2 separate regions of the Homo sapiens genome follow, and region 1 is linked to region 2. The links are contacts of gene promoters, found by promoter capture Hi-C in human tissues and cell types (Jung and others, 2019). All regions are on one chromosome and are shown on one strand. Each heading gives the region's core, a stretch centred on a gene start or on the middle of the fragment in contact. The rest is flanking DNA. Distances are from core to core; before and after follow the strand shown. Region 1 has its middle 230 kb from the start of SORL1-AS1. Region 2 holds the start of UBASH3B (ubiquitin associated and SH3 domain containing B).

Region 1 (4,126 bases), core at 91-2,590, 980 kb before region 2:
ATTGCTGAATTTAATTAGCGAATATTTTGCTAACACTTTTGTGTTTATATTTATGAAGGATATTAGTTTGAATTTTTTTCTTGTAATTTTATTATTTGGTTTGGGTATCACATTATTACTGTCCTATAAAATGAGTTGGCAAATGTTTCCCCTTTTTTGTTTTCTAAAAAATATTCTGTGAAAAAAGTATTATTTTTTCCTTGTAAGTTTCAACTAACTGACTACGGAAACCATCTGAGGTGGGAGTTTGCTTTTTGGGAAAGTTTTACATTTTTGAAAAGAATGTCTTTAATTAAATTCACTTAAATATATTTTATATTCATACACTTACCATTTTGATGCTCTTCATTTCTTTGTGTAGATCGCAGTTTCCATTTGATGTCATTTTCCTTCAGCCTAAACTTCTTTAATATTTTTGTATGCAGATAGGCTGATGACAGATTCTTTTAGCTTTTGTTTTAAAAAAATGTCTTTATTTTGCCTCCATTTTTGAGACAGATTTTCAATGGATATAGAATTCTGGATTGACCATTTTCTTTCAGCACTTTAAAAGTGTCATTCAATTTCCTTCAGGCTTACTTTTTTTTTTTGGAAAGTCTGCAGTCAGTATTATTTTGCTTCTTTGTATATATTTTTTCTCTAAGTGCTTTTGCAATTTTCTCTTTATCTTTGATTTATACAGTTTCACTCTGGTGTGTCCAATTATTTTTATTCTACATGCTCTTTGTCGAGTGTCTTGGATCTCTGGATTTATAATTTTCATCAAATTTGGTAAATTTGTAACCATTATTTATTTAAATAATATTTTATGTTTGTCCTTCTAGGACTCAAATTACACACATGCTAGACTGCTTCCTCTTGTCTTGAAAGTCACTGATGTTATGTTCATTTTTTTTCTAATTCTTTTTTTCTTTCCTCTGCTTCAATTTGGATAATTTCTATTGCCTTGCCTAAAAGAACTTCAGGCAAGTTCTTAAAACAGAACTGGTCTTTTTTACTGCAATGTCTAGTCTGCTTTAGGTAAGTCTATTTAGTAAATTTTTTATTTCAGATATAATATTTTTCAGCTCTGGAAGTTCCATTTTGATTTTTTTTCATATTTTTAATTTATACTTTTATATTCTCTCTTAAATCATTAAACTTGTTTATATTAGCCATTTAAAAGTTGTTGTCTGCTACTTTCATAATTTCTATCTGTTCTGTCACTGTTCTTATTGCCTGTTTTTTTTTTTTTTTAAACTGACTATGGGTTCCATATCTAACCATTTCTGGTGTAGGGTGTCCATTGGGTGTTGTACATTGTGAAAGCTACATTGTTGAGTGTCTTGGATTTTGTTGTTTTCCTTTAAAGACCGGTGAATTTTGTTTTGGCAGACTATTAAGTTACTTGTGGATCACACTGACTGTGTTGAGATTTGTGTAAAAATTTTTAAAACTTGGGTCTAGAATAGTCTTTACCCTCACGGTAGTTTTATCTTATTACTGCTAAGGTGTGGTTCTTCTGTAGTCTCTGCTAAATGCCCTGAGGTTCTATGAACTCTCTTCATGCTGGCTGGCTGGAGCTTAACTATCTTCCAGCCCATGTGAGCTCTGGAAATTGTTTAGTTTACCACTCCCCAATATTTGTTGTTTTCCTGGCCTCATAGAGCTTCTGTCTGAAAATATGCAGCTTAATACTTAATAAAAGACTCAATGCAAATTTCTGGAGCTCTTTTCCTGTGTAGAATTCCTGCTCTGTTGTATTCTATTTCATAAATTCCAGCTGCCCCTGCCTGCTCAAACTCTGATTTCTGCCTCCTCAATTCAGCAAGAATGCTGTGCTTTGCTTGGGCTCCTTTCCTGTCTGCTGTGGCCTTGAAAATGCTTCCAGACAGAATGCCCATCCTCTTCTATAGCTCATCTAGTTTGCATCTCTTTTCTCAGAGATCGCAGTCCAGCATTGCCTATTTTCTAATGTTTGAAAATAATTGTTTTTTTTTGTCCAGTTTTTAAGTTATTTACTATAGGAGGGCAAACCTGGTACCAGTTACTCCATCATGGCCATTGATACAGGTTTAATCAGCTTACATAACAGAATTTTCATTTTGTCTGTATTTCTTTAAAGAAATCACCAGAAGAGTACAAAACCAACAAAAAATATATATGACCTCTGTATGATCACATTAATTCACTTGTCTGATAAGCCTTTTCAAACAGAAATAAGATTAGTGGATTTGACTTATTCATAATGAACCCATGCTGGCCTATAGGGATCACATCTCTTTCTCTTCGTAAGTCAGACATTTAATGACGTTTTAAGGATTTTTCCAGAGAATGTAATGTTTACCATTAAGCAGGTTTTGGAATATGCTTTTTAGAAATATGAAAATATTTATCTGTTTTTGGTCTTTGGCATAATATTTATAAATAACATTTATTTGCTTATGAAGTGCTTACTGTGTGCCTGGAAGCAGGCTACATGTTTTATATACCTTATCTTTTTGAGTCATCATAATACTGTGAGTTTTGAATCATTACAATAATATGAGTTCTTCTATTATCCTCACTTAATAGTTGAAGAAATTGAGAATTCGAGATATAAAATAACATGCTTCAGGCCACATAACCAGAAAGAGATGGAGCTGAAATTTGAATCAAAGAAGTTTGATTAGAAAATACCAGTTGAACCACTGGGCTATCCTTAACATCACCTGTCTTGAGCTTCGTGATTTCTCAGAATTTTCTTTTAACCAAAAAACTGAACTCTTTTTTTGTTTCTAAATATCATTTGAAGTACCCAAGGAATGCCGAATATGAACAAATATGGGGTCCTTCAGCGTCCTTTTTTTTTTTTTTTTTTTTTTTTTGAGACGGAGTCTCACTCTGTTGCCCGGTGTGGAGTGCAGTGACGCAATCCCGGCTCACTGCAACCTCCACCTCCCAGGTTCAAGCAATTCTCCAGCCTCAGCCTCCGAGTAGCTGGGATTACAAATGTGCACCACCACGTCTGGCTAGTTTTTTGTAGTTTTAGTAGAGATGGGGTTTCACCATGTTGGCCAGGCTGATCTGTTCAGTGTACATTGAGTATGTTTTACTGATTCATTTAATCTCTTTCTATTCTTAGGGCATTCCAGGCAAATGGAATAATATGAAAAACAGCAAAAGAAGCATGAAGCTGCAGAACTTATTAGTTCAAATGCAATATGGGGATGTTTTGTAGCAACATCACATGGATGTTGAGAGGGTTGAAAGGAAGGAAACACATTTTACTACATAAGGGACTAGTAATGAGAATGTATGTTTAAAGTTCATAGATATATTTGGTACAACCATGACTACAACACCTGAATAAATTTAATTAATGCTTTTCCTGTGAAGAACATATAGTACTTGAGTATATCATAAAATACTATTGTTAGTGGTTTCAGGAGGGAGAATCATTCACCAAACAAGACAGACAAGAAAATCATGAGGATAAGAGCTGGACAAGTGTGATGTGTTGTTGGTAGAGGACACCCAAAGGAGGGAGAGATCAGACTCACTTGTTTATTTAAAGATGAGTAAGAATTTGCCTGACAGATGGGAATCATGACAGCTGGAGAGAGGATGTTCTAGGCAAATGGAACAATATGTATAACAACATAGAGGCATGAAACAGACCACATTCTCTTTGATCAGTAATGTAACATATATATGAATGTGTACATTCAAATAAGTTTAAAATCTTAGTGCTCTCCTCCAAAGAGTTTATAACATAATTGAATAGATAATGTGCAAGTATGGGAAGAAAATGTTAATACTATGTGATAATGGTCTGATAAGTATCTGTTGAATAAATGAATGATAAATGAATGAATGTCAGCGTGTGCTAAATGCCAAATGACTAATGCTACTGGTAGGATCTCCAGGAGGACAGGGCAGGGGATGCTCACTTTTGCATGATATGATTTGGAGAGTCCTTGATGGAGAAGTGGGGATTGATCCAGACTTTGAAGGGTGGGTAGAAGTTGGATAAATGGATGAGGGAAGGTGCCCCAAGGGAGTGAAGAACAGCATCAGCAGAAGTAAGCAGGAGAGAGGGGTGTTATCAGGGAGGGAAGGATGAATGTGGAGGAGCTAGGACCAAAAGGTGGGCATCCCCAGATCA
Region 2 (3,948 bases), core at 1,336-3,835:
GCTGGGATTACAGGGGTGAGCCACCGCACCCAGCCCCCCTCTTCTCTCTTTGTAATAGAACAGTGTAGACATTTATGAAGCTTTTCCTAGCTTTTCAACGTCAACACAATTAAAGCACAATGCATCTGAATTGCCAGCCCCCCAACCCAGTGCAGAACAAATGGCAGGAGTCCTAAATAAAACAGGGGTTTGCACTGAGCTGAAGACAAGTGAGGAAGCCAAGCTGGGATTTCTGTAAAAGTGTCCCAGACAAAAACAGTTTGCATCTCAGGTGCCTAGTTTTTCATAGTGCTTTTTCCAGTCTACCTAAAACTATTTTTATATGCATCATTTCCTTTATCTTACAGTTTGCCTAAAGGCAGGGAGAAAGACAATTAATTCAATTTTTCTGGAGAAACAGAGATCCAGCAATTCTATGTCAAGGGGCATAGATGGAGTCAAAAAACTATCTTAAAGGCTGGTGTCCTTTTATCATCATAACAATGGTCGTTAACTAGTTGTTTGGCCAAATGTTAAGAGTTCAAATCTTGGCTCTGCCATTTACTAGCCATGTGACCTTGGACAAGATACTTGACCTCTGGCTCAGCACCTTCATTTGTAAAGTAGTTCCTAGTTCATAGTCTTGTCAAGGAATTGTTTGAGTCACATATGTAAGAAGCAAAGAACAACACCAGCATATAGTAAGTACTCAATAAATTTGAGTTATCATTTATGTAGCGCTTTATGGTTTACAAAGCGCTTTCACATACATTATTATCTCTTGACTAAGATCCAGATCATTTGACTTTCAGCCCAGGCATTTGGAAACAATTCAGAATACTGGATAAAATCCAGCATGTTTTACCGAACACATCCAAGGAGGCTAATACTAGGTATGGTGTTGCCAGCCCAGTCTTGTCTTTTTGCTCCATGTCCTGGAAGAGCATTCTGCAAGGTCTCCAGGATATCCCCTTTGCTCTGGAAGCAGCTACTACCCAGGAAGCATTAATTTTCCCTCATCCTTTGTACAGCAGGAGGCAGAATTAATACACATTGTTGCTTAAGCTCCAGCTGTCTTATCTCCCTGCTTCCAAACACCACTGGCTATTCTTTAGGAAACCAATTCCGGGCTCAGGGAGTTACACTGTATCATTTCCCCTGGTAAAACCTTCACAGGCCTTATAAAGCAACCTCAAAAAGCCACTCCATGGGTGCTGGTCACCATCCCTCCCCCATATTCCAACCAGGGACAGGCCCGGACTGACATTTCTGGAAAACCCAGTGTGTGCAAGGTTAGGTTACCACGGTCCATACCAATGAGGAAATTAGGCTGTAGAGAGAAGTAACTTGTCTAAGGCACCGCAGTGGATACGAGTGCTGTAGCTACGCACTTACCAGCTCTATGATCTTCCCCAACCTCTCTGAGCTGAGTTTTCTCATCTGTAAAACTGGGATAATGATTAAACACACTCCTAGGGTCAGTATAAAACTTCAGTGAGTTCATTCATTACGATTAGCACAATGACTGGCACATACAAGAGCCCAATAAATGTTAGGTTTTATTATTATTATTACCCAAAAAAGACTATCAGTTAGGGTGTACTCATTGCCTCTTTCATTATAGCAAGTGGGACCCTTGTCCCTGACTGAAGACAATGACTTTGTTTCCAAACGAAAGAGGGTTAGCATCCCCCAGCCAAATTCACCAGGTGGGGCATGGGGCATCAATATGGTTGTGGCTTCCACCATCTTTGCAGTGGGAGTAGTTTTGTCCAGCCTATGATACAATTCACTTATTATTGTGCAGTGGTGATTCGGTCCGTCTTTGAATCCTTTTATTGACAGGATATCCACTCCCTAATGAAATAAGCCCGTTCCCTTTTGAACACCTCTTATAATTAGGAAGTATGTTTTCTCTGTTCCTTCTTCCTCTACCCTCCTAGCCCTTCCTTCTTCTCCTCCTCCTTCCTCCTTTCTTTTTCCCTTCCCTCTTCTTTCTGCCCTGTCCCTCTTTTCTTGTCCCCTCCCAGGTCCTGCCACCTCTGAGAACCTGAGGTCCTTCTCCCCAACCCCTCTGCCCCACCGGGAAGGCACTATTCAGTCACTGACCATAACCTTGTAGAGCGCAGTAGGTCTTTAGTGCAGCCACTTGGCCGGCTGATTGGGAACTCAACTTCCGATGGTCCTAACAACCCTTTGGGTTTTGCAGGATCTTTGAGAAGCAAAACCTTTTACCTAGGCCTTACGGCTTGGCCTTCTGGTCCATTAGTATCATCCACCAGTTCACCCAATTTCCATTAATAACCGCATCTAGAATCACATGAAACTTGAGATGGGTTGATCTCCTGTCTTGAGGCCCAGCTGGGCGGGTATGCCAGCCAAGGAGAGGGCTGGGGCGCCGGGGGTGACTCTCGGGAGGTGAAGCACACAAGCAGCCCATAAGGTTGGGATCCTCCGTCTCCAAGTAGCGCGACTACAGCTCTTGCCCGCACGGAGCAGCCTCGGACAGCGCGGCCGCTTTAAGAGAGGGGCGGGGCCCGGGTACAGGCAAGTCAGGGCCAGCCCACAAGGCTCCTTTTCCTTTTTGATCCATTCAAAAATTACTCATTGCAAATTCCCGGACTGCTAGGCGAGGAGAGGGAAGGGGGCGGAGGAGACAGGGCTACTGCAGGCGCAGAGCTGGGGGCAGCCGGGGGCCCGAGTGGCTGAGGCTGGTCCCGCAGCGGCCGCTTGCCGGCGTTCTGGCTCCTGTGGCCTCACCAGGAAGCGTCAGAGTCCCGACACTGGGGAAGCTCGGAGCGCCGCCTCCGCTGCCGCCGCCTCCTGCCTGGCTCTGGGTCCCCGAGCCCCCTCCCCTGGCCCAGCCCGACTCCCTCCTCCTTCCCGAACCATCCGGCTCGGGCTCCTTCCCTGGCGATGGCTGGCCGCTGAGCCATGGCTCAGTACGGCCACCCCAGTCCGCTCGGCATGGCTGCGAGAGAGGAGCTGTACAGCAAAGTCACCCCCCGGAGGAACCGCCAACAGCGCCCCGGCACCATCAAGCATGGATCGGCGCTGGACGTGCTCCTCTCCATGGGGTTCCCCAGAGCCCGCGCGTAAGTGGCCGGGCTCGCAGCCCTCGGCGACCCCTCCCGCGCGCGCGGCCGGCCCTCGGCTTCGCTCCGGCTCGCCTCCCAGCGCCTGCGGGACAGGCAGCGCGCTCCCCGCTGCCCGAGACCTGTTGGGGGCGGGATGGGCGCGCTGGCAACCCGGGACTCGGCTCCGGGCGGGGGTGCGGGGGAAGACGCGGCGCGGGGGCGTTGGGCCAGGGCTCGCCGTGGGATGCCTAAAGCTGGGGGACGAGGGCGCGGGGTTCGAGTCCCGGGTATAGTGCTCAGCCTCCGCCCCAGCCGGGTGGAGCTCAGCGTTTCTCTCGCGCGCTCCCCTAGGTCTCCAGCGCCGAGCGCCTAGGGAGGCGGGGCCCTGCGGAGGACTCGGGCACCCTCTCCGTCTGGAATACTGGGCTGGTCTGGGATCCTCCGGTGTCTGGGAAAGGGCGGGAGACTGCGGGGCAGGGAGGCCGGCGCCCCCGTTGCAGCGGCTTCCAGCTCCGGATGTCGCTCTCGGGTTCGGTCTCCCCCTGGAGTAGGAGGAGCGGGAGCGTGGGTGTTCCTGCGTGTTCATTGATGGGGAGGATGGAATCAGAAGGAGAAGCGATCCCTCCAGGGGACCTGGGTTCTCGTCAGTGGTGACGGCAGCTCAGAAATCTGTGGGTGCCTGAGAGTAAGGAGGGGGAGCTGTTCTTCATCCTTCCTCTAGGAGAGTGGGGTAGGGGAGGGCAGGGAGAGCGCAGGTGGCTGCCCCTGGAGCCTGCTGGGGAGAGGCCTGTTTGCCAGCATAGGGTGGCGGCGGCCGGAGTCGTCTCAGGCCGGTCGGCTCAAGTCTCAGGGGCTGGAACTCTGCCTAAGAGGAAGCCAAGGCCCAGCGGCC

Evidence for each region. Contacts are between HindIII fragments. The study calls those that stand out against the background at their distance.
Region 1: a fragment that was not itself captured here is called in contact with the fragment with the promoter of UBASH3B in region 2 in 1 of the 25 tissues and cell types used here (hippocampus).

Annotation. Positions count from the first base shown.
Region 1 is chr11:121,678,218-121,682,343 of GRCh38, forward strand. No RefSeq gene overlaps it. Among named protein-coding and RNA genes, the nearest start is that of SORL1-AS1, 230 kb to the left of the region's middle. The HindIII fragment of the contact is 7,595 bases long and covers 1-4,126 here.
Region 2 is chr11:122,653,137-122,657,084 of GRCh38, forward strand. UBASH3B (ubiquitin associated and SH3 domain containing B) reads left to right here and starts at 2,586. Exons shown (of 14, transcript NM_032873.5): 1 at 2,586-3,074. The coding sequence starts at 2,914. RefSeq lists an enhancer at 2,491-2,992 and a silencer at 3,196-3,245. The HindIII fragment of the contact is 12,544 bases long and covers 1-3,948 here.